Linked DNA regions of Homo sapiens: region 1 is linked to region 2. Evidence: promoter capture Hi-C in 16 types of primary human blood cells and fetal thymus (Javierre and others, 2016). All regions are on one chromosome and are shown on one strand. The core of a region is centred on a gene start or on the middle of the fragment in contact, and the rest is flanking DNA. Distances in the headings are between cores, read along the strand shown.

The links. The method cuts DNA at HindIII sites, captures the fragments that hold promoters and counts their contacts. A CHiCAGO score of 5 or more calls a contact.
Region 1: a contact is called between a fragment that was not itself captured here and the fragment with the promoter of TAB3-AS1 in region 2, in 1 of 17 cell types (neutrophils). The highest score is 5.8, in neutrophils.

What each region holds. Positions count from the first base shown.
Region 1 is chrX:30,531,510-30,536,527 of GRCh38, reverse strand. No RefSeq gene overlaps it. Among named protein-coding and RNA genes, the nearest start is that of TASL, 44 kb to the left of the region's middle. The HindIII fragment of the contact is 2,809 bases long and covers 445-3,253 here.
Region 2 is chrX:30,831,684-30,836,378 of GRCh38, reverse strand. It overlaps TAB3-AS1 (TAB3 antisense RNA 1), which reads right to left and starts at 1,756. Exons shown (of 3, transcript NR_145449.1): 1 at 1,616-1,756; 2 at 1,084-1,182. It overlaps TAB3 (TGF-beta activated kinase 1 (MAP3K7) binding protein 3), which reads left to right. Exons shown (of 11, transcript NM_152787.5): 10 at 2,227-2,328. The HindIII fragment of the contact is 4,366 bases long and covers 1-3,841 here.

The DNA.
Region 1 (5,018 bases), core at 600-3,099, 300 kb after region 2:
TCTGCATCTATTGAGATAATCATGTGTTTTTCAGTTCTGTTTATGTGATGAATCACATTTATTGATTTGCATATGTTGAACCAACCTTGTGCCCCAGGGATGAAGCCTACTTAATCGTGGTGGATTAGCTTTTTGATGTGCAGCTGGATTTGGCTTGCTAGTATTTTGTTGAGGATTTTTGCAAACGCTATTTTTTTAAGTCTATATTAATGAGCAAAATAGGTTTGTTATGCTCCTTTTTTGTACTGCTTTTATGCATTTTTGATCTCAGATATATGCAGGATTAATAGATGAGTTAGGGAAGGAATCCCTTTTTTTCTTTTTATATTCTCTGAAAGCATTTGAATGAGATTAAGATTATCTGTTTTGAGATTGGTATTTGCTTTAAAAGAGATTTGAAATTATTGCTTTAATTTATTTAATATTAACAGGACCATTGAAGCTTATAATGTGTTTCTCAAATCAGTTCTGCTAATTATATTTTTCTAGAAATTTGTCCATTTTGCCTAATGCATTAAAGTTGATGTGTGCTTATTATCTTTTTATTCTCTGCTTTATCTAAGTTTGGTTATTTTTCATTTATCATTTTTACTTTGGTGCCTCCTCTCTTTCTCTTTCTCTGCCTTCTTTTCTTTATGAATCTTGCTGAAAGTATACTTATTTTGTAATTTTTTCCCAAAAGCCCAATTTTTGTCTTTGTTGCATTTTTGCACGTCACTCCTATTTCATTGATTTACACTCTTTTTATTATTCGTCTGCTTTTTTTATGTTTAGTCTAATATTCTCTTTCAGATGTCTAATTACTTCATAGCTTTTCCCCCTAAAATAAGTATTTAAGGCTATAACACTTCCTTCAAAGCACTGCTTTTCCTATGTGCCTTAAGTTTTGATATACAGTATTTTTATTATAATTTTCTTTTAAACATATCACAATTTTCATTATGAGTTACTTATCAGTGTGTTTTTAAAATTTCTGAAAACATGGATATCAACCCATCATGAAGGATCTGAGATTTTACCCTACTTAGAAGATAACAAGTTAATATTGATGAACAGATTTGAGACTGCTAGGTCAGTGACAAAGGACCTTATAAAACACAGCATTAGCAGTGGTCAGTGTATCAGCATTTTCATGTGCTGAGTCCTCAAACCCCAATTTCACCAGGGTGATGAAGAGAGCCAGGTGACATGTGCATTTACAGCGAGTTGTGTTACAGGAAAGAATTCAGAGCTTAAGAAACTCAGATCTTTTATACTGTACAGTAAGCATGCTTGCCCTTTGCTCTAGAGGGAGATGCTATCTTTATCTTCCAAAGCTGTCTAGTATACAAATATCCTTGAAAAGATGGCCTGAGAAAAAGCCAGTCAGTGCCTCTGCTCATAAGACATGCAGAAATATAAGACCCATGGAAAATTGTCTTGCAGTAGTAAGTATATTTGTTATTTTTGTTGTCTTTCTAACTTAATCGAGTTGTCAGAGAAAATAATCTGCATAATACCTATGCTTTGAAATTTATTAGGGTTCATTTTGTGGCTCAGTACATTATCCAGTTTTTTTTACTGTCTCATTTACAAAATACATTTTTTAAAAGAATGCAAGTTCTCAAATTTCTGGATGCAAAGTTCTATGTAGGTCTATTAGATCACGATTTTTAATTGCATTATTTAGACTTGTTATATGCTTTCTGAATTTTATCTCCTTAAGCTATTGATAATTGGGAGAGGTATGTTGAAATCTCCCACCATGATGGCATCAATTTCTTTTTTTTTTTTTTTGCTTTTGTTGTTCTATCAATTTTATCTCTACATATTTTGAAGCTATTTTATTAGGTTCATCCATAGTTAAAAATTTCTATACTTTTTTGGCAAAATGAATGTCATTTGTACCTACCTGCTCTCACTCTAATAATGCTTTGCTTGAAAAAAAAATCTATTTTGTCTGATACTAACATATATACTGGGCTTCTCTTGTTAAGTATTTGCCTTATATGACTTCTTTTATCCTTTCACTTTCAACCTTTGCATGTCCTTGATGATTTAGGTGTGTCTTTCATAAAAAGATATATTGTATTATGTTTATTATTCTTTTTAAAAACAAGTGTTCGCTGTGTTGTAATATTTCTGCTTTAGATGAAATCTTTTCAAACACTTTTCTCTTGAAAGAATCCTCTTCTTCAGATATCTTGATGTATTGGCCTGTTGACATATTTCTTGGAATATGAGCTACTTTTTTTCATTGACGGCTATGGGGAAAGGGTCAGAGGTCAGGTCTCAATCTGCATTAGCTCAAATGAGTTTCAAGAAGTCACTGTGGGGGGAATATGCCCCTTATGATGGGGAGCCCCACATTTAATCACTCCTCTGTGGCAGCATTAACAGAGGTCTCAGGACCCACTCATGATGTTGAGAAACAGGACTCAGGGCATTCATTTTGCTTGTATGAATCATAGCAGGAATGGCACACCTCTGGAGCTCACAGCAGCAGTTTCTTGATCGTGGTGGTTTCCTGATGATGGCAATAACAACACAGTTCTGGAACCAGGAGCCTCTTGATCACATAAGAGGCAGCAGCTGCCCTGATAGCCAGGTTCCATGGTGAGTCTGTAGAAGTTGTTCCTGAAAACTCAAACTAGAGTTTTTTTCTTCAGCTCCTACCACAATTCTATAATGAATTCTGATATGGTTTGGCTCTGTGTCCCTTGAATTGTAATCTCACCTTGAATTGTAATAATCCTTACGGGTCAAGGGTGGGATCAGGTGGAGATAAATTGGATCATGGGGGTGGTTCCCCCATGCTGTTCTCTTGATAGTGAGGGAGTTCTCACAAGATCTGTTGTTTTTTATAAGGGGCTCTTCCACCTTTGCTGCTGGGCACTTCTCCTTGCCTTGTGAAGAAAGTGCCTGCTTCCCCTTCTGCCATGATTTTAAGTTTCCTGAGGCCTTCCCAACCATACAGAACTGTGAGTCAATTAAACCTCTTTTCCTTATGAATTACTCAGTCTCGGGTATTTCTTCATAGTAGCATGAGTATGGACTAATACAAATTCCTTCCTGCTTGAGCTAGCTAAAGTGCAGTCTGCCTTGTACAACTGAACCCTGACCTAGACAATATGCTAAAGGATCTAAGAAAGTTGAACTCATAAAAGTAGAGAATCAAGTGGTGGTTGCCAGATGCTGAGTAAGAGGAGTGAATGGGGAAAGGGGAAATGTTGATCAAAGGGTGACAATTTTAGTTAAACAGGACGAATAAGCTTTAGTGATCTATTGCATAGAATGGTGACTATAATAAATAATAATGCATCATATACTTCAAAATTACTAAAAGAGGAGATTTAAAATGTTTTCACAACAAAAAAGTGTGTGAAGTTACAGATTTGTTAATTAGCAAATGATTTAATCATTTTATATTGTAAATATATATCTAAACATCACATTGTACCTCATAAATGTCTAATATATACAATTTTGTCAATTAAAAATTTAAAAACAACATGCTAAAGGGAATTATAAGAATTTAAAAAATCTTCTCCCCTCAAAATCTATATCAATGTGCTTTTGTCTTTTGCATTCGTATTACAAAACTTTTGCTTTAGTTGTGGTGGTGATCAGACAAACTGAAAAGTTTTCTCAACTCAGAAATTCTGTTAGCAGTCAAAACTTCAAAATTGGCTGCTTGCACTATTTACAATAGCAATGACATGGAATGAAACTAAATGCCCATCAATGGTGAACTGGATGAACAAAATGTGTGGTACATATACACCATGGAGTAGTATGCAGCCATAAAAAAACCCAAAGTCATGTTTTTTTTGTTGGTTTTTTTTTTTTTTTTTTGCAGCAACATGGTTGCAGCTGGAGGCCATTATCCTAAGAGAATTGACACAGAAACAGAAAATCAAATACTGTATGTTCTCACTTTTGTAAGTGGAAGCTAAACATTGACAATACAAGGACATAAAGATGGAAACAATAGAGTTAGAAAAAATGAATAAGACTTACTATTTGATAACACAACAGGGCAACTATAGTCAATAATAATTGTACATTTTAAAATAACTAAGAGTATAATTGGATTATTTGTAATACAAAGAATGAATACTTAAGGTGATGGATATTACATTTGCTCTGATGTGATTATTATTCATTGCATGCCTTTATCAAAATATCTCATGTAACCTGTAAATATATACACCTACTATGTACTCACAAAAATTAAAAATAAAATTTTTTTTAAAAGATGGAAACAATAGACAGTGGGTACTATTAGAGGAGGGAGGGCGTAAGGGAAGCAAATGTTGAAAAACTACCTATTGGGTGCTATGCCCACTACCTGGGTGATGGGATCATTTGTATCTCAAGACCCCAAGACACAATTTACCCATAGAACAAAGCTGTGCATGTATCCCCTGACCTAAAATAAAAGTTGATAAATGAAAAGAAAATGGGCTGCTTTTAATCTTTGCTTTCCTGCTATAATATCCCAACCTCCACATCCCTCACGCTACACATATGGATGCATCTGGCCACCTAAAACAGTCATATATTAAATCATATTAACATATTTTAAAGTAGCATCTCTGTTGTAAATATTTATAACTACTCCTTTAAGGTGAATTCCCAGAAATTAAATTGCATCATGAACATTTTTAACTCTGGATACTTATTTCATATCACTTCCTAAAGTGTTTTACTACTGTATTTTCTGTCCGCAACGTAGGATTTTTTCCTAGCATTTATCCATTGCACTATTACCCAAAATAGGAATCCTGACAAAGTATCTTTTGCTAATTTGTTAATGAATGACAGTCTTTTATTGTTGTCTTGATGTGCATTTTTGATTACTGGGATACTTGAAAATTTTACAATATTTATTTAACTAAATGTATTTCCATTTCTTGATGGAGTCTTTAAAGTCAGAGAGATTTTGTGTGTAGAGTAAAAAGATCACTTGGATTTTGCTTTATTTACATGTCTAGTGAACAAATCTGGCAGTCATTTTTTTCTTAAACACATAGAGA
Region 2 (4,695 bases), core at 507-3,006:
CCAAGCAGTTTAATATTCTACATATGTACACTTCTAATAAAAAAGAGACTAGGAAGCCATCTCAGTCATCTTCACTATAAATGAATTTCTATTTTAGAAATTTAGTAGTTGTAATTCTATAATAATATATATTATTGGTGAAAGTATAAATGGTTCTATTATATGCCAAATTGTCTTTAACCCGTTTTTTATCTTCTTCTGTTAAAACTTAGAAACAGTAGAACTTGATTAAATTCTATAATTTTTTGGTAAGCCTTTCATCACAAATTTATAAAAGCTATTCAGTTTTCTCCATAAAATCAAGTTTGTTTTCCATTAAGCACTTGCAGATTCTCATATTGTATTTGAAACTAAATCGGCGTTTTCTAAAAGTACATATAGTTTAGCACAGATTGGCCTGCTATTGCAGGCCACTCAAATACAAAAAGAAAAAAGATAAACCAGTAAAACACAAATTACTGGTAGAATAGGTTTATTGGTTCGAATAAATAAATGTCTTGGAGTTATTACAGATATATACCAGAAATCCAAGTGTAATTAATATAGTTTATCTGAATTCTAAGTGTGATAATTAAAGAATGTGAGGGAGACAGAAGGAAAGAGAGAGAAAGAGACAGAGAAACAAACCTTTTTTGGATTGGACTTTGTAGTTAAGCAATACAGTGTGTACGTGCTCTTCAGCGGGCTTAGAATGTCTCCCAACCCTTATTAGTAACTCATAACAGTGGTAGATTGGACTTTGTAGTTAAACAATACAGTGTGTATGTGTGCTCTTCAGTGGGCTTAGACAGCTTCCCCAACCTTCATCAGTAAGCAAGCAAGCACACTGACCTTGGTGTCCCACGATCTGAGCACTGGTCCTGGTCATCTTGGCCACCTGACCTTGTTCAAACTCAATCTGAGCACCATAGAGGGACAATCCAGCCAAATACTCCAAAGGTTGTAAGAGTTAGTGAGATAAGGTATGTGACTCGACAGAAGTACTTTGCAAATCTAAGAAACAGAACTTTACCTTATTCTTTGGAGCCTTAAGGAGACATTCACTCTGCTTTTGTTTACTCAGACAATGGAGTATTTAAGTACCTGAGCACCATGCTTTGGATTCTGGAGCAGTGATTTCCAAAGATGAGTTGTACTGTGGGCTCAGAATTCATTAGAAAATGCAAGATCTTTCTTTGGTTCCTAAGGGCAAATAATATAAAGGCTGCCATTTTTCATTTTTAATCCAAAGGGTTGCTTACTAATAAACTATAAATTTATAGAAACAATTTTCTAGCAAGATATTAGGATGCCTACAGTTCTTGTCTGTGTTGCAAAGTGTCTGCTGGGCTTCTGCACACATAGGTAATTGGAATTCAGGAAATGATTTGGGAGCACGTGGTTGTCAGTATATACTATTATATCGAGTTGGTTCTGATTTTTCAAGTACTGCTATTTTTAAAAAATCCACCAGACACAGTGGCTCCTGCCTGTAATACCAACACTTTGGGAGGCTGAGGTGGGAGGATCACTTGAGGCCAGGAGTTTGAGACCAGCCTGGGCAACATAGCGAGAGACCCTGTCTCTACAAAAAATAAAATTTAAAAAATTAGCTGGGCGTGGTAGTGGCATGCACCTGTAGTCTTGGATACTTGGGAGGCTGAGGCAGGAGGATCACTTGAGCCCAGGAGATCAAGGCTGCAGTGAGCCATTATTGTGCCACTGTACTCCAGCCTGGACAGCAGAACAAGACCCTGTCTCAAAAAAAACAAAAACAAAACAAAAAAAATCCTGTCATTTTCATCACATTTCATCATTGTAATAGCCTTACTGTATGGATAGTGCCCATAATTTTAAAATAATTTTTAAATAATTATTGCTTAATCAGATAATTGCTAAAGTAAAATTTCCCAAATTTTGCTTTCACATCGACATTTATTTGCTATCACTGAGTTTGTACCCCTAATCCATTAAAAAGTAGAAAACAGTGAAATAGGGCATTTGTTCTAAGTAATGGGAGAAGATGTAACTGGAGAAGATGGAAAAAAGTTGTAAGAACCACTGCTCTGTATAGGTTGTAAAAGCAGTATTAAATATGGTGCCTGCCCTTGCTAAAGGTAACATGAAGTAATAGGTAGGGTAAATGCACTCAGCTGTGTGGGTTGCTTGAAAGATCTTGTGAGCCTGTTCACTCTTGCAGTTGAAAGACTGGATCACTTCTTTCTGGCGTTGTTTATTTTTATGCAGACTCCTCAGACCCCTGCACAATTGAGAGAAAAGCCCGAAGAATTAGCGTGACCTCCAAAGTACAGGCAGACATCCATGACACCCAGGCAGCAGCTGCAGATGGTTTGTACTTGTGTGTCCAGAGTTTGTGCAGAATGTCCAAAGACACATGTTAATCCATGTAGAATTATAAGTAAAACCATACCTTTATTTTTTGCTTTAAAAACATTACCGAGTTTCTAAGGCTGTGCTGTCCAGTAGAAATATAATGCAAGCCACATATACAATTTAAAATTTTCTAGTAGCAAAGATGAAATTAATTTTTTTTTTTTTTTTTTTTTTTGAGACGGAGTCTCGCTCTTTAGGCCAGGCTGGAGTGCAGTGGCGCTATCCCGGCTCACTGCAAGCTCCGCCTCCTGGGTTCACACCATTCTCCTGCCTCAGCCTCCTGTGTAGCTGGGACTACAGGTGCCTGCCACCACGCCCGGCTAATTTTTTGTGTTTTTAGTAGAGACGGGGTTTCACTGTGTTAGCCAGGATGGTATCGATCTCCTGACCTCGTGATCCACCCGCCTCAGCCTCCCAAAGTGCTGGGATTACAGGCGTGAGCCACCGTGCCTGGCCAAATTTTAATATATTTTTATATAATTCAGTATATACAAAATATTATTTCAATATGAAATCAATATAAAATTATCAGTGAGATGTTTTACATCCTTTTTATACTAAGTCTTTGAAATGTGGTGTATATTTTACACTTATAGCAACATTGAGTTTTTAGAGCATGTCTATTAAAAACCAGCAACAGTAAGATACGAATTTTTTTTTAAGTGTTACGTTTTTGGGCATATTGTTCTTTTAAAAGGTAAAGACAAAAGAGGTCCTTTTCTGAAAATGGCATAGTAGGCCGGGTGCGGTGGCTCACACCTGTAATCCCAGCACTTTGGGAGGCCGAGGCAGGCGGATCACGAGGTCAGGAGATCGAACCATCCTGGCTAACACGGTGAAACCCTGTCTCTACTAAAAACACAAAAAATTAGCCGGGTGCGGTGGCAGGCGCCTGTAGTCCCAGCTACACAGGAGGCTGAGGCAGGAGAATGGCGTGAACCCAGGAGGCGGAGCTTGCAGTGAGCCGAGATCACGCCACTGCACTCCAGCCTGGGCAACAGAGCAAGACTCCGTCTCAAAAAAAAAAAAAAAGAAAGAAAGAAAATGGCATAGTAAACATTTTTCCTCCAACCGAAGGCTTTATTCCTCCATATGAGACAAAAAAGAAAACTGTATTAAATCTACATGTTTTGGAGTCATGAGCCAAAAGACACAAGGTGGGTGATAATGGCAGTTAAAAAGCAATAGTTGAAGCAAGAGAAACAAGCCCATCTCCTATTTATAGTCATAGGAAGCAGCTGAAAAACCCAGTAATTTTCTGTTATATCCTAAGGCTAAGATCACCTTCCTGTTTGAGGCTGAGCATTATCATACCTTGGGGTAAGGTTCAGGGTCTAAAATTCAGTTCTCCTTATCTCTTGGGGAATGTTATAACATTTGTCATATAAGGCAAATTGATAAACTAGAAGTCAGCTTGTTAATTTCCAGTGGAAGATATGCCTAGCCCAAAATAGTAACTGACAAAGCTTCCCTAGATCTGTTTCTTTTGTTACCTATTTAAAAAGGTGTTGCTTACCTCAGATCTTAATCTCATTTCCAGTTACCCCAGATTCCAGGGTGAATTCCATCTGGAGATCTTTAGTCTCCTATTTATTGACCTCAGTCTCAATAGAGACCTAAAAGACAGAAATTACAGGTTAACTCTAGATGCAAAGAGCTTTTTTGAGCACAAAGCCAGAGGGAATGAGGACCTAAGAGGAATGTAAGTTTGGATATCTTTTTCAAATCCTGGGGACCAACATAAGGTTGCCAGGTATGGGCATTTTTAAAAACTGATATATGAAGGATTTTTAATGCCAAAAATGTAGGAAAGAATATGAGAATAAAAGTCTTTTATACTGAATGAATTTAGCTTTATGAAAAATGAACTGTAGAATCTTCCTCTTTTCACTATTCTGAGGAAAACTTTGGTATGAACTGCCACTGCTATTTATGAACCATTAATATAAAACATATGCATATTGTAGAGCTTAAGTTGTCATGGAAGAAGGCACACATTTAGTCAGATGTTTAATATAGTGTGGATAGTATTATACTATAGAGAGGAAAAGTCAAGGTGGGCTGAAGTCAGGGAAAACTTACAGAGGCGACAGAATTTAACATGCTATAAAACATTTCTCTTTTTCTTCATTTGGCTGGAATAAAGCATAACTCTCCGCTATTTACAGGTAATGACCTAGGAAGGCAATCTATTCTGGACATATATCCATCTTCTTATAGCAGAAAAAAAGTAATTAGAACAAAGTAAAAGATCAACTTTCTGTTCAACTATGCATTTCCAGTAGATATATTTACTAATTGGCTTACATATTAAAGTAGGCA